Regions from separate parts of the Homo sapiens genome. Here all the other regions are linked to region 1. Evidence: promoter capture Hi-C in 16 types of primary human blood cells and fetal thymus (Javierre and others, 2016). All regions are on one chromosome and are shown on one strand. Each heading gives the region's core, a stretch centred on a gene start or on the middle of the fragment in contact. The rest is flanking DNA. Distances are from core to core; before and after follow the strand shown. Region 1 holds the start of NTF3 (neurotrophin 3). Region 2 overlaps VWF (von Willebrand factor). Region 3 overlaps VWF (von Willebrand factor).

Evidence for each region. The method cuts DNA at HindIII sites, captures the fragments that hold promoters and counts their contacts. A CHiCAGO score of 5 or more calls a contact.
Region 2: a contact is called between a fragment that was not itself captured here and the fragment with the promoter of NTF3 in region 1, in 1 of 17 cell types (megakaryocytes). The highest score is 7.5, in megakaryocytes.
Region 3: a fragment that was not itself captured here is called in contact with the fragment with the promoter of NTF3 in region 1 in 1 of 17 cell types (endothelial precursors); the score reaches 5.1 in endothelial precursors.

What each region holds. Positions count from the first base shown.
Region 1 is chr12:5,429,603-5,433,935 of GRCh38, forward strand. NTF3 (neurotrophin 3) reads left to right here and starts at 2,506. Exons shown (of 2, transcript NM_001102654.2): 1 at 2,506-2,740. The coding sequence starts at 2,723. RefSeq lists an enhancer at 3,323-3,848. The HindIII fragment of the contact is 3,984 bases long and covers 1-3,058 here.
Region 2 is chr12:6,039,829-6,044,161 of GRCh38, forward strand. All of the region lies in intron 18 of VWF (von Willebrand factor), which reads right to left. SNORA120 (small nucleolar RNA, H/ACA box 120) reads right to left here and starts at 355; the gene lies at 209-355. The HindIII fragment of the contact is 6,812 bases long and covers 1-4,333 here.
Region 3 is chr12:5,961,583-5,965,915 of GRCh38, forward strand. The region is part of intron 47 of VWF (von Willebrand factor); the gene reads right to left. Among named protein-coding and RNA genes, the nearest start is that of ANO2, 18 kb to the left of the region's middle. The HindIII fragment of the contact is 1,334 bases long and covers 1,728-3,061 here.

The DNA of each region.
Region 1 (4,333 bases), core at 1,256-3,755:
AGACTGTCTGAAAGAGGTCTTCTACTCAGAAAAGGGCTAAGGCTCTCCCTTTGGGAAACCAATCCTTCTGAGAAAAAGTGCATCTTTCACCCTCTGCTCCTGTCTGGGTCTCTCCCTCTTCCTCCCTCCTTCCCTCAGTCCCTCCTCCCCTCTCTCCACAAAGACACAGCACATATTTGGCAAGATTAAGGTGTCACCTCTCATATTACAAGGCCTGTTGATTGCAAGCAAAGACAGACCCACCAGCTTAGGACAAAACCCCTTGGAGTTGGAAATAAGACAAACTCTGGGATCCCCGAAAGTCCCGGCAAAATGACGCGGCCAGCCAGTGCAAGGCATCTGCAGAACAAATCCAAGTCCTAAACGCACTGCTTGCTGCCTTTTCTTCTCCTTCCTTTCTTCTGATTTTTCAAGTTTGTTTGCCCCCCTTCCCCTCCTCCCTCCAGACTGCCAGGGACCTGGGAGCTGCCTGCAGATCAGCCCGCACATGTATTTAACCCCTTCCCTGCTGCAGCAGGAGCCAACCACCTCTTTCCTTGCAATCTTCAGGTTCCCAGAGGACCTGGAGCTTGAGAAAAGAACTCTGCCAGTGGATCTGAAACTGGGGCCTGAATCCCTCCTTTGACCAGGGCGAGAAGCTGGAGGAGGGGGGCAAGTGCGGGAAGTGGGGGAGGGCAGGGAGGCGGGCCAGATGAGAGGGAGAAAAGCAGAACCCGACAGAGCACGCCCAATCCAAACCTTCATGGTGCTGTGTGGCTGGGTGGAGGGAACGACTCGGCAGCCTCTTCTGGCCCTGAGGAAGACGTCGATATTTTGGCACGAGGGGAGCCACTGAAGGACTACCCTACCCTTGCGAGGGACCGCAGGAGGTGACGCCCCTGGGCCTCGGTGGGCGCTTCTGGCGGTTTTCGATGTGGCAACCCCCATCAGCCAGGATAATGATGAGGCAGGTACAATCTATCTAGTACGCAGCCCCCAGACTCCCCCCTCCCTTCCCACCTCCCCATCCAACCCCCCAGCTACTCTCTGCGGCCGGTTGGTCCTGAACTGGTGGGTGCAGTTCCGATGTTTAACCAAATTCTCAAGCAATTTCAAGGTATTTGGATTTTTTGAACCTGGGCCCTAACCGAAACGCGGAACGGCTTGCTTATTAGACACCTCGAACGACAGGGCAGGGAGGAAACGGGATACTCGCTGCCCTTCCCAGTCGCGCGTGAGTCAAAAGGTCCTGGCAGGAGATGATGTGAGGAGCGGCTGAAGTGGCAGGGAGGAAGGGATGAGGGGCTTGGAGCGGAGGTCCACCACGCAAGGACTCGGGAAGCGGGCAAGTGGGCAAAACTCTGCTTCCGGGCTCTCGATTTCTCGTTGATCACTAAGTGGTATTTTTCCCCCTTCTCTCGATGGCAAATGGGCGAAATCAAGATGACTTAACTTGGTAAATTTAGAGAGAACGGCTCGGAGCAAGTGAGGTCTAACGGGCAGCTAAAATTATCTCCAAATAAGAGATTTTGACCCCCTCCCCCTATCCTCTCCTCGAATGTATCCACCGGTGGGGAAGTGAGCGTCATTACTTTCGGGGCGCCACGAACAGGTTTGTTTGTTGCTCGCCTTTCCTGCTTCTCGCGCTGTCCCCGCGTGCAGACTGGTGGGTGCTGGGCGAGTGATTAGCTGCAGGGCCCCATCCTAGTTTGGAAGGAAGGGGTTTAGAAGTTGGAGGATGGGTGAAATGGGAGGCTGCGATCCATCTCCCTCTCCCTTCCACACTCAAGCTCCCGCAAACACGCGCGCGCACACACAGCCCCTCCCTAGTCCCTCGGACCACCCGCCCCCACGCCCCTCTACCTTGACCTCCCTTGACCGCCGACACAGCGTCCTGGGTGCGGGTCCCCGGGAGCGGGGAGTTCGCCGGGGAGCGATTGTCCTTGGGCGTGTTCGTGCTGTGGGGTGGGGGGAGGAGTGGCGGGTGGGCTTGGTAGGGGGTGGGGAGAGATCTGGAGCTGGAAGGGTCTAAGGTTTGGAGGAGGAGTTTACGCCTCAGACCTGATCCTCCTGAGGAAAAAGGCAGGAAAAGGCCCTGATGCCTTGTAAAGAAAATCTTGAAAGAAAAAAGATCAAAAAGAAAAATTTCAAGAAAAAGAACCACTAAGAAAGGCTGAAGACACTAACATGTAACCTGTTACGATACATTTAACGTTTCGTTTTTTCCTGGATCTCTAAAAGGGAACTCAAGGGTGGGGGTTACTGAAGAATACTACAGATTTGGAAGTTTTTGTTGCTGTTGTTGTTTGGTTTGGTTTTGTTTTTCAAGAGGGGCCAGGAGAAATGACCCCTTCCCCGCCACGGGTCCCGAAGTGAGGGCGGGGGGGGGGCTCTGGGGCGCGGGCGCGCGCGGCGCGGCGCGGGCCGGCGGGGGAGGGCGGCGCGGCGCGGAAGGGGTTAAGGCGCTGAGCGCGGAGCCATCTGGCCGGGTTGGCTGGTTATAACCGCGCAGATTCTGTTCACGGGACTCAGAGTTGAAGCTCCTCTCCCTTCCGAACAGCTCCGCGCACCGCCCCGCGACGCAGCCCGGCGCAACTACTTTCTTCTCTCTCCTTTCTTTCTTCCTCTCCTTTTTCCCCTGCTGGGTAGTGGCTGCGGCGGGGTGGGGGAGACTTTGAATGACCGAGCTCGCGTCCACCTTTCTCTTCATGTCGACGTCCCTGGAAACGGCCACACGGATGCCATGGTTACTTTTGCCACGGTAAGGGGAGGCGGCGGGCACCTTGGGTGGGCAGGTTTGGGGATGGGGGTCCACGTGGGGAGGGATTTTCCAGTGGACTGGTGCGGGGGGCCCCAGATCCGCATCCCGCCCCACCCCCATCGCGCCGCGCTCACTCACTTTCCCGGGCTTGTGTCTTCCCCAAAGTTTGCGCTGGGATCTGCTCAGGCCGAAGCGCAACCGCAGCCACCCCGCTACACACACACACACACACACACACACACACACACACACACACACACACACAGACACGGACACCCTTCTCCACCTCCTCCCCTCTTGTCCCTCGGCTGCCCAAGAAGCTTCCCTCAATCTGGGAAAGTGATCAGGTTTAAGGGACCTGGATTGGAAAGGGTGGGGGCAGAAGAGGGGAAATGGGGACGACGAAAGAGCAGGAAAGAGATTCAACAGAATCAACCACCCACCACTCCCAACCGACCCGCCTGCTCCTCCGAGAAAGCTCCTAGCGCATCCTATAACAAAAGGGGGTGGCAGACAGAACTCCGGGCGGGGAGGTGCCGCGGCAGCTCCCCTGCACACGCCCTGCACTCTGCCGGCCGCTGAGCCTGATTCTCAGCTCGCCCCAGCACCACTCTGGCCCGGGCGTGGGCTGGGGGGAGGGGACGCGCAGCTCAGGACCCGGAACCTCGCGTTCCAGTTTTGGGAGTTGGGACTCACTGCCACGCGCCGCGTACCTGCGTTGGAGTTCCCCGAAAGGGTTTTTTCAGAAAAGACCTCGCGCCCCGGGCTCCTCTTGGCCAGCGCCCACCCGGTGGCCACCCCACCCTGGGCCTTTGCGCAGATGTTGGAGCTCCGTACGCAGCCCGCACATCTGGGACCCCTCCGGGGAGCGGCGGGCACCCGGGCCCGGCCATCCCAGGGGATCTCCTTGCGGTATCGTCCAGCCTGTTCTCGGACTTTGAGCGGTGGCGTGGGAGGCCGGGAGACCTGGGCACCCGCGCAGCCAGCCAGGTCGGAGTTTAAAGGTCCCACGACGGACCGAACTGTCCCATTGCCCCAGAGCTTTACTCAGTGGTGGATGCTCCTGATGAAATTTGGGACGCTTGGGAGTTGAAGGTTAGGGACAGGAGGGGCGAGGGCCGAGGGCATGGGATGGGGGAGTAGGATTCTGCTTGTTGCTCTCCGCGGGAGTGGGTGCGCGTCCAGGAGGCGCTGCTTCTTTGCGGGAGTTTGGCTGCTGCGTTCATTCGTCGTCTGCGCTTCAGATGCACGGCACTGAGACCCTTGCGTCCGACGGTGTCGGGGCTGTGGACTAGAAAGGATCCCTTTTGCTGGAATCGAGGCTGGGGTGGGATTGCCGGTGGGGGAAACACCGAAAAGATCGTCTGGCCTCGGCCTCTGGCGGCGGGCGGCAGGTTCTGAGTCCGAATGGAGGTTGCTCCCGGGAGCGCCGGGCTCAGAGCTAGAGAGCTCGGGAGACTGTGCGCCTGTGGACTTGTTTATGTGTGTGAAGAGGCGGGGGCGAGGGCCTGCTGAGAGGGGAGGGGAGCCTGGAAGGGGTGGGTGTTTCTCCTGGAGCCTGATGTTTGTAACTCAGCTGATTATGGAGTGCAC
Region 2 (4,333 bases), core at 1,829-4,328, 610 kb after region 1:
CTGGACATCCTGGGATCAGGGACATAACCACACTTCTCGCCACCAAGAGGCTCCTAATACCAGCAGTTTGGGAGATGTAGCTGCTAGGTTTCAAACGGGAAGTCAGCATCTCCCAGACAGAGGCCTAAGTGTTTCAGATTACAGGAGCCCTGGTCTCAGAGTCAGGAGACCAGAATTTCCACTATACAACTATGAAGGCTTGACCCGGCTCTGTTCCCTTTCTGTCCTCAGTCTCCTCCCGTGTGATAGAAGGGGCTGACATAATGGGACCTCAGGGTTTCTTCTTCTCTGCCCTCTACGATGCTCCCAGAGTTACCCTTGCCGCCGGACTCAGGAAGGGTGAGCAGGGCAGTGAGTTGTGCTTTGCTGTCACCTAGTGGTGGTAGCAGGTAATATTCTAACTTAAAGAGATGGATGCTTCAGGCAAGCATGGCTCCAAGAATTTCTGAACTAGAGAAAAATACCTGGGAGATCTTCCAGCACAACCCCCTCATTTTATCGATCCGGCAGGTCTCAGAAAGTGAACACTGGGATCTAAAAAGATGCTCCTGTGTGTGCTAATTCCCTGCAGCATCTCTGTTCATGGCAGGATTCACCGTTTCCCACCACGAACTTACTGTAATAGTTAGTGGTCATTAAACCACCACTCACTAAGCACCTCCCATGTGCTCGCTGCTCTCATCTCCAGTCTTCCCAACAGCCTGCAAGCCAGTTTTACAGATAAGAAAATTAAGACGCCAAGATGTTAAGTGACTTGCCACTCACTTAAGTAGATGTTAGGAGGCAGGATTCAAACCTGGAAGTGTGAGGTTCCGATACCATGCCGTTTCCAGGCGGTTTCTCTGCCCTTCATTTATCACGGTGCGGACCACTTAGCAAAGGGACCCCCATCCTCCTCATTCCCATGCCAGGAGACCTTTGCACGATGGCAGGAGCAGATACAGCCTGCAGCTTGTGGGGTCAACCAGAAAACCTCTGCTCTAAGCAGGTGCCAGGCCTGGGACAAACCAGAAAGAGAGGGGTTCTTTCTCTGCCCCCGCCAATATTTTCAAACAGGTGCTTCTGGGCATACGGTGGACACTGAGAGGCACCTTAGAGGAGGAGAGACAATCTTCGGCTGAGAACAGGGCTGCTCAAAGTGCATTCCCTGGGCCAGGGCCAGCCTGTGAGGACGCAAGCACAGAAACTAAGAGAAAGTGTTTAGAAAATCTTAGGGAAATTTGGCAGAGTCATGTTATGTCTGTTATATGTCATAAAAAGTGGGAAGTAAGAGTTTAGATTTAGGGATCATGAAAAAAAGGAAAGAAAACATTTTTTAAGGCCGGGCATGGTGGCTCACACCTGTAATCCCAGCACTTTGGGAGACAGAGGTAGGCAGACCACCTAAGGTCAGGAGTTCGAGACCAGCCTGGCCAACACGGCAAAACCCCATCTCTACTAAAAATACAAAAATCAGCTGGGTGTGGTCGTGTGCGCCTGTAATCCCAGCTACTCAGAAGGCTGAGGCAGGAGAATCACTAGAACCTGGGAGGTGGGGGTTGCAGTGAGCCGAGACCATGCCACTGCACTGCAGCCTGGGTGACAGAGCAAAACTCCGTCTCAAAAAAATTTTTAAAAAAAAAAGAAATTTTTTTTTTTGAGACGGAGTCTCGCTCTGTCGCTCAGGCTGGAGTGCAGTGGTGCAATCTCAGCTCACTGCAACCTCCGCCTCCTGGGTTCACGGCATTCTCCTGCCTCAGCCTCCCAAGTAGCTGGGACTACAGGCGCCCGCCACCACGCCCAGCTAATTTTTTGTATTTTTAGTAGAGACAGCGTTTCACCGTGTTACCGGGATGGTCTCGATCTCCTGACCTCGTAATCCGCCCGCCTCAGCCTCCCAAAGTGCTGGGATTACAGGCGTGAGCCACTGCGCCCAGCTGAAAATATTTTTTAGTTGGGTGGGATCATATTATTTTTGTCATTGCTTTTGTTTTATTTTTATGAGAATTCATTTTTATTGTATTTACAAAAGCATGGGTCCACAGCAGGCTGGAAATCTAAGAAAAAGCATCCTTTACAGGTCTCTCCTATGGACAGCAGGAAGAACTGATGGGTGCAGCCTCTGAGACAGCCTTGGATAGTTACAGAAACAACAATGAAAGCTATTCCTACACTTCTGTAGAACTCTCTGGCTTTAAAGTGCTTTCACACACATCTCCTTGGGGCCCACAGCCATGCATCATGGAGGCAGAACAGGAATTCGGTGTCTACGTAACACATGAGGTGACTGGGCTTCCGGTAAAGACTGAAGGATTGCACAAGAGCATGGAGTGGGAAAGCAGGGAAGCCTGGCCTGACGGGTCTGCCCTCTGCACCCCATTCCTGCTCTTTCTGCCCCCCGCAGATCTGCCCCCGGGAAAAAGCCACTTCCCTTTCCCCTGTCAAGTCCTCAGAAGAATGCAGAATCCGTGACCCCTTCCCCAAGCCCTTAGTGACATCCCACAACCCTGCCCCTTCACAAGGGACAGACTGGACAGAGGAACACCCCGAGGGATGATGTCTGCACCATCAGATGGGCCCAAACAGGGTGTTTCCAGGCCCAGCTCCATTTTCTTTGTGTTATGGCCAAGAACACGTGTCCCGTGCTGCAGGCGGCACGCTGCGCACCCTTAATAAATTACACGGACTTCTCTGCTCTCTCGAATCTGGCCGCAATAATTTGCACACTCGCCGGCATCGTAAGGAAGCAGTTGTGAAAATAACCGAATCTCTTACAATATGAACCTGCAAGTTAGAATCCCCTGTGGCTGAAGTGCGAGTCACCTCGTCACGTGACAGGTATCCAAGTGCTGTCCTCAGAATGCATGCCCAGTGCTTCAGGAATGAAATGAGCGCCTAACAGGATAGCCACAGCCTGTATTTGAGGTCCCGCTGTCCTCTTTTTTGGATTTGGGGTCATAATATAATTATTGTGGTTACTAATATTTAAGGCTATCTGTATTTTTTCCTTCATGACAAAAAAGTTTGTTTCAAAGCATATCCGATGCTGACATAGTCCTCTGAGTGATGTTCCTTTTCCTGCTGAGTATGATGAAGAGACAATGATCTATGCTTTCCCCACACCAAAGCTCTGAGACACTCTACCTAAGAGGCCCCAGGGATAAAGAAGAGCAATAAGGAAGATTCCCCTGCCCTCTCCTATTTTTTGTTCCTACCCAGGTCTGAGATTCCCCACCTTAGAGACCCTTCGTGATATCCACCTTCTGCTAAGGCACCAAACAACCCTTCCAGTTCAAAGGTGCTCATTGGCCAATCGCTAGCTCTCCTCATCAGAAAAGACAGTTCCAAAACCCTCAGAGGCTAAGACAGAGGAGGAGAGAATTAACAAGAGTTGGTCTCTCTGTTTGGGAGAAGAAAGAGTTGAAGGGGAAGTAGAAAAGTAAGCATCTGTCCTTCACACACTGCAATCCCAGCCTTCCTGAGAGACACTGGTAATTGAGTCCACATTCCCTCTACAGAATATTGACAGGTCCCACAGTCCAGGACACTTCCCCTCAAGCAGAGTCCTGGGCAACACTAAGTCCCCTCCAAAGCCATCTGAGAGCCACCCTCTCCCATTCTGGCCTCCACAGCCTCTGCCCCAACTCCTCACCATTCACTTTGGGTATAAGGAATTGGAGTTGGGGAAAACAAGAAGACAGGATGCATTTTGAAAGAGAAACATCTGGAAGTTGCATCCTTCAGGATGTATGCGTAATCTATTTAATACAACGCTGGCTAAGATTAGACTTGGGAGGGAGATAAGGAGGAGTAGGCATGCTCAGATCATTGCCACCAGCAGCAGAACATCCACATAGGAGCCAGGAGTCGCAAACCAGCACGGCCTTGGATGCACGGCCTCCATGCCTGTTTCAGGCACAGCACCGGAGTCATGGAATGTTAAGGGCTGGCCAAGACCTCACGACTCACATTACAGATGAGGAAAACAAGTTTCATTGTGGGGAAGAGACTTGTTGGGCCCATGGCTTGCTAGTGACACGGCAGGGCCATCAATGTCTTTTTTTGAAATAGAAAATTATATGCATATACGTCAATCATATGCAAATATATATGTGTCCCTCCATTTTCATAGCATGGAAGGCGGCCCCTGGGAAAATTCTAGTGGGAATGCTTGTTTTTACTAGTACGTATTTTCTGGAAATTCTTTGCTTCCTATGGCACTCCTGTAAGCTAAGTTCTTATATTTTTGTCAGATCCTGTGAGGATCAACCCCAGGCATTTTCCTAACAACTCCCTCCCTGACTTTGGCAGGGAGGAGACAGAAGAGCCTCCCCTCCTCCATGCCCCCATTACC
Region 3 (4,333 bases), core at 1,145-3,644, 530 kb after region 1:
CCCCCTCAAAAAAAAAAAAAAAACACTATTACTACAACTAATAAGTGAATTTAGCAAGGCTGAAGAATACAAGATCAAAATATAAAAACTGATTTTATAAAAGCAACAAACAAAACATAAAATTTAAAAAAAACTTCCATTTGCAATATCGTCCAAAAACTTTAAATACTAGGTAATAAGTGTAACAAAATTTGTGCATCTACACAAAAAAAATCATTGCAGAGAAAAATTAAAGGAGACTGCTAAGATGTGAATGTGTGTGTCCCTACAAAATTCCTATGTTGGGATTTAAACTCCCAACTGATGATATTAAGAGATGGGGCCTAAGTGATTTAAGTCATGAGGGCTCCACTCTCCTGAGTGAATTTGTGCTGTTATTTAAAAAAAAAAAAAGTCAAAGGGAATGCCCTAGTGCCTTTTGCCTTTCCACCTTCTGCCACATGTGGATGCCATGAGAAAGCACTGCCTATGAGGAACAGGCCATCATCAGACATCAAATCTGCTGGTACCTCAATCTTGAACCTCCAGAACAGTGAAAAAATTAATTTCTGTTCTTTACAAATTACCCAGTCTCAGGTATTGTGTTACAGCAGCACAGACTGAGAGCAAGACCTAAATAATCGAAGAGATATACTATGTTCATAAATTGAAAAACTCAACCTTGTCTAGACATCCCTTCTCTCCAGATTAACCTATAGATTCAATATAATCCGGCACACTTTAAACATTTTTTTAATAAAAATTAACAGGATGACTCTAAATTTATATAGAAATTGAAAGGACATTAAATACCCAAAACAATCTTGAAAAACAGCAAAGTTGAAAAACTTAAATTATCTAATTTCAAGGCTAACCATAAAGTTACAGTAATCAAGACAGTGGTGAGACCATAAGGATAGACAAAGGATCAGAAAAAAAGGAGCCTAGCGATTGGTCCATACATACACAGGCAATTCTTTTTTTTTTTTTTTTTTTTTTTGAGACAGAGTCTCGCTCTGTCACCAGGCTGGAGTGCAGTGGTACAATCTCGGCTCACTGCAACCTCTGCCCCCTGGGTTCAAGTGTTCAAGTGATTCTCCTGCCTCAGCCTCCTGAGTAGCTGGGATTACAGGCACCTGCCACCACCCCCAGCTAATTTTTGTATTTTTAGTAGAGAAGGGGTTTCACCATGTTAGCCACGATGGTCTTGATCTCTTGACCTGGTGATCCACCTGCCTCAGCCTCCCAAAGTGCTGGGATTACAGGCGTGAGCCAGCACGCCCGGCCAGCAATTCATTTTTTACAAAGGCACCGACATAATTTAATGAGGAAAGGATCATCTTTCAACAAATGGTGCTGGACCCACTGGATAGCCACATGGGAGACCCCTACTTTATACCACATTTAAAATTTATTCCTCATGGATCATAGACCTAAAAGTAAAACTAAACTATAATGCTTCTAAAAGAAAACATAGGATACTATCTTCATGACCTTAGAATGGACAAAAACTTCTTAAACAGGACATAAAAAGCACTAACCATAAAAGAAAAACATCTATAAACTGAATTTTATCGAAATTAAACTTCTGATCTTCAAAAGACACAATTAAGAAAAATAAAAGCTGAGCCACTGGCTGAAAGAAAATATTTCATTAGATACCTTATAAAGGACTAGTATCCAAAATACAGAAAAAAACTCATAATCAATCATTAAAGGGCAAACAACCCAATTTAAAAATGGCCAAAAGCTTGAACAAACACATCACAAAAGATGATATGGCCAATAAGTATGTAAGATGCTCCACATCATTAGCCAACAGAGAAATGCAAATTTAAAATACTAGAAGATTCTGAAATTAGAGAAGCAGTAAGGAAAAAATGCTAGAAGATATCACTTCACAATGGCTAAAATTGAAAAGCATGACAATACCAAGCATTGGTGAGGAAGTAACTGGAACTCCCATAGAATGCTGGAAAAAACTTCTCCCTGAGAAGCATGGTAAGTTGCAAATTGTGTCTCTGCTGTTCTCTTGTATCCCCAGCATCTGGCCCCTACTTGGCACCCCTACACTCACAGAGGAGGTAAGTTCAGCTAGGAACTTGTTTTCCTGTTTGTTTTGTTTCGTTTTTGAGACAAGGTCTCGCTCTGTCACCCAGGCTGGAGGGCAAGTGGTGCAATCATAGCTCAGCGCAGCTAGGGACTTGTTGAAGCGGCATAAGGTAAGAGCGCCTTATTTATATCTGCATCGGACAAAGAAGCAGCTTCGAGACACAGGACTGGGAGAAAAACAGGGCTGGCAACTTTTTATTTTGCAAAGTAAGAGTGTTTTAAACAATTTTAATAAAATAAAAACCAAAAAGCAGCCAGGCGCAGTGGCTCACGCCTGTAATCCCAGCACTTTGGGAGGCCAAGGTGGGCAGATCACGAGGTCAGGAGATTGAGACCATTCTGGTTAACACGGTGAAACCCCGTCTCTACTAAAAATACAAAAAAAAGAAAAAAATTAGCTGGGCATGGCGGTGGGCGCCTGTAGTCCCAGCTACTCAGGAGGCTGAGGCAGGAGAATGGCGTGAACCTGGGAGGCGGGGCTTGCAGTGAGCCGAGATCTCACCACTGCACTCCAGCCTGGGCGACAGAGAGAGACTCTGTCTAAAAATACATACATACATACATACATACATACATGCATACATACATACATACATACATGCATACATACATGCATACATACATACAAAAAGCTACCAAGCTACCATCTACTGTCTCATCATTCCCTAAAAATTATTAGCTTTGCTTTCAGAAGAAAAACAAATTATAGTTCTTTTGACCCTTTCCACCTTCGTACCCCCAAAAAACAGAAAGAACGTAATCACATAATCCCAGAATTTTTTAAAGAATCAATTTAGCTTTGTGAGAAACCAACTCTGTTGTCATTCTTTTTCTCATTTTGCCACATTTAGTGATCACCATTCAGAGATCCATTCATTGGGGTCCTGAGGCTTTTCTATTATGAATCACCAAGTCAATTTGGAGCACCCAGACAGACGACCTGTCCCAAGGTCAAGGTTAGGAGTCAGTAAGCTTGCTCAGAGATTAATTTAAACCATTTGCTCTCATAAATCAAGCCATGAACTTGGCGTGTCTTCAGGAGCAGGCAGAAGGAAAAGCCAGTGAGGACAGGGCAGTCAGGGAGGCAAAATCCCCACAGCAGGAGGCAGAGGGCAAAGTTAGGCCAAGAAAAGGAAAGGTGGAGGGCAGTTATGCGAGAAGAAAGATTTGGAAGAAAAGGGAAAGGAGGCAGAAAATAAGCCGAAGGGGGCAACAGTGTTAAGGGTGTGGCAGGGGCTTGGAAGAAGCAAGGGAGGGAGGAGAGAGCATGGAAGTGAATGGAGGGAACAGCCTGCTCTGCAGCATGTCTCCTACCCGGCAGGGCCAGACCACAGCTGCACACGATGGACAGGACTTGTTTGGGCACTGCTGGATTTCCTGGCTGCTGCTGGCTGGGGGTATGTGTTCCACATTTCCCCGTTCAAGGGGAGGGCAGAGCTGCCCTTTGGGTTTTCCCCAGAACATTTGATCACCGCAGGAAACATCCTTCTCAGGAGCAGCCTCTTCCTCCTCCTGCTGAGCAAGTTCCCAGCCAGCCCCAGAGTTCACTTGTTTAGGTCTGAGCAGCCAATTAGTCCTGCTTTCCTCACACAGTTGTCCTCCTAAAACTGCCTTGCACACCCCTCAGGGCCCCTTTCCATGTATTTCATCGACGGCTCGCAGCCCTTCCATCCATCTCCCCGTGTTTCCCTTTTCTCACCCCGGCTTCTGGCTGCCGGTTATTCATTCACCATGCCCTTCCCTGGAAGGTCTATTCGACATTCAACCCATTCATTGCTCAAGGTCCACTCAGGGTTGCCCTCCTCCGGGACGCCTTTCCAGGGTTCCACAGCAGAGTGACCTCTCTTCCTCATGCTTTCTTTGAGCAGTCAGCTGTCAAGCCTCATCTCAACCACTTGTCAGCACAAACTGCCTCCTGCTGCTCTCCCTTTAGGTAAGAGCACTGGCTTCCCTGGGAGGCAACGGAAGACTCACATCTCGGGCAACACTGGCACTTCAGCCCAACGTGGGCAGTTCAAGCCGACCTACCTAGACCTAATTCACCACAGCTACCCCCAACCCAGGAGGTGTCCCAGAGACCCTTCGTGGCAGAAGACGTAGTAAGACTAGCGGAGGACGCTGAGCTAGAACGGGATCAGCAGAGGCCGGATTCAGCAAGGCTTGAGAGATGCATAGAGGGAGGGCGAATCTAAGGGATCTCAAGAGAGAGGAGGTGGCTTGCACTCCCCTGGGAGATACCAGA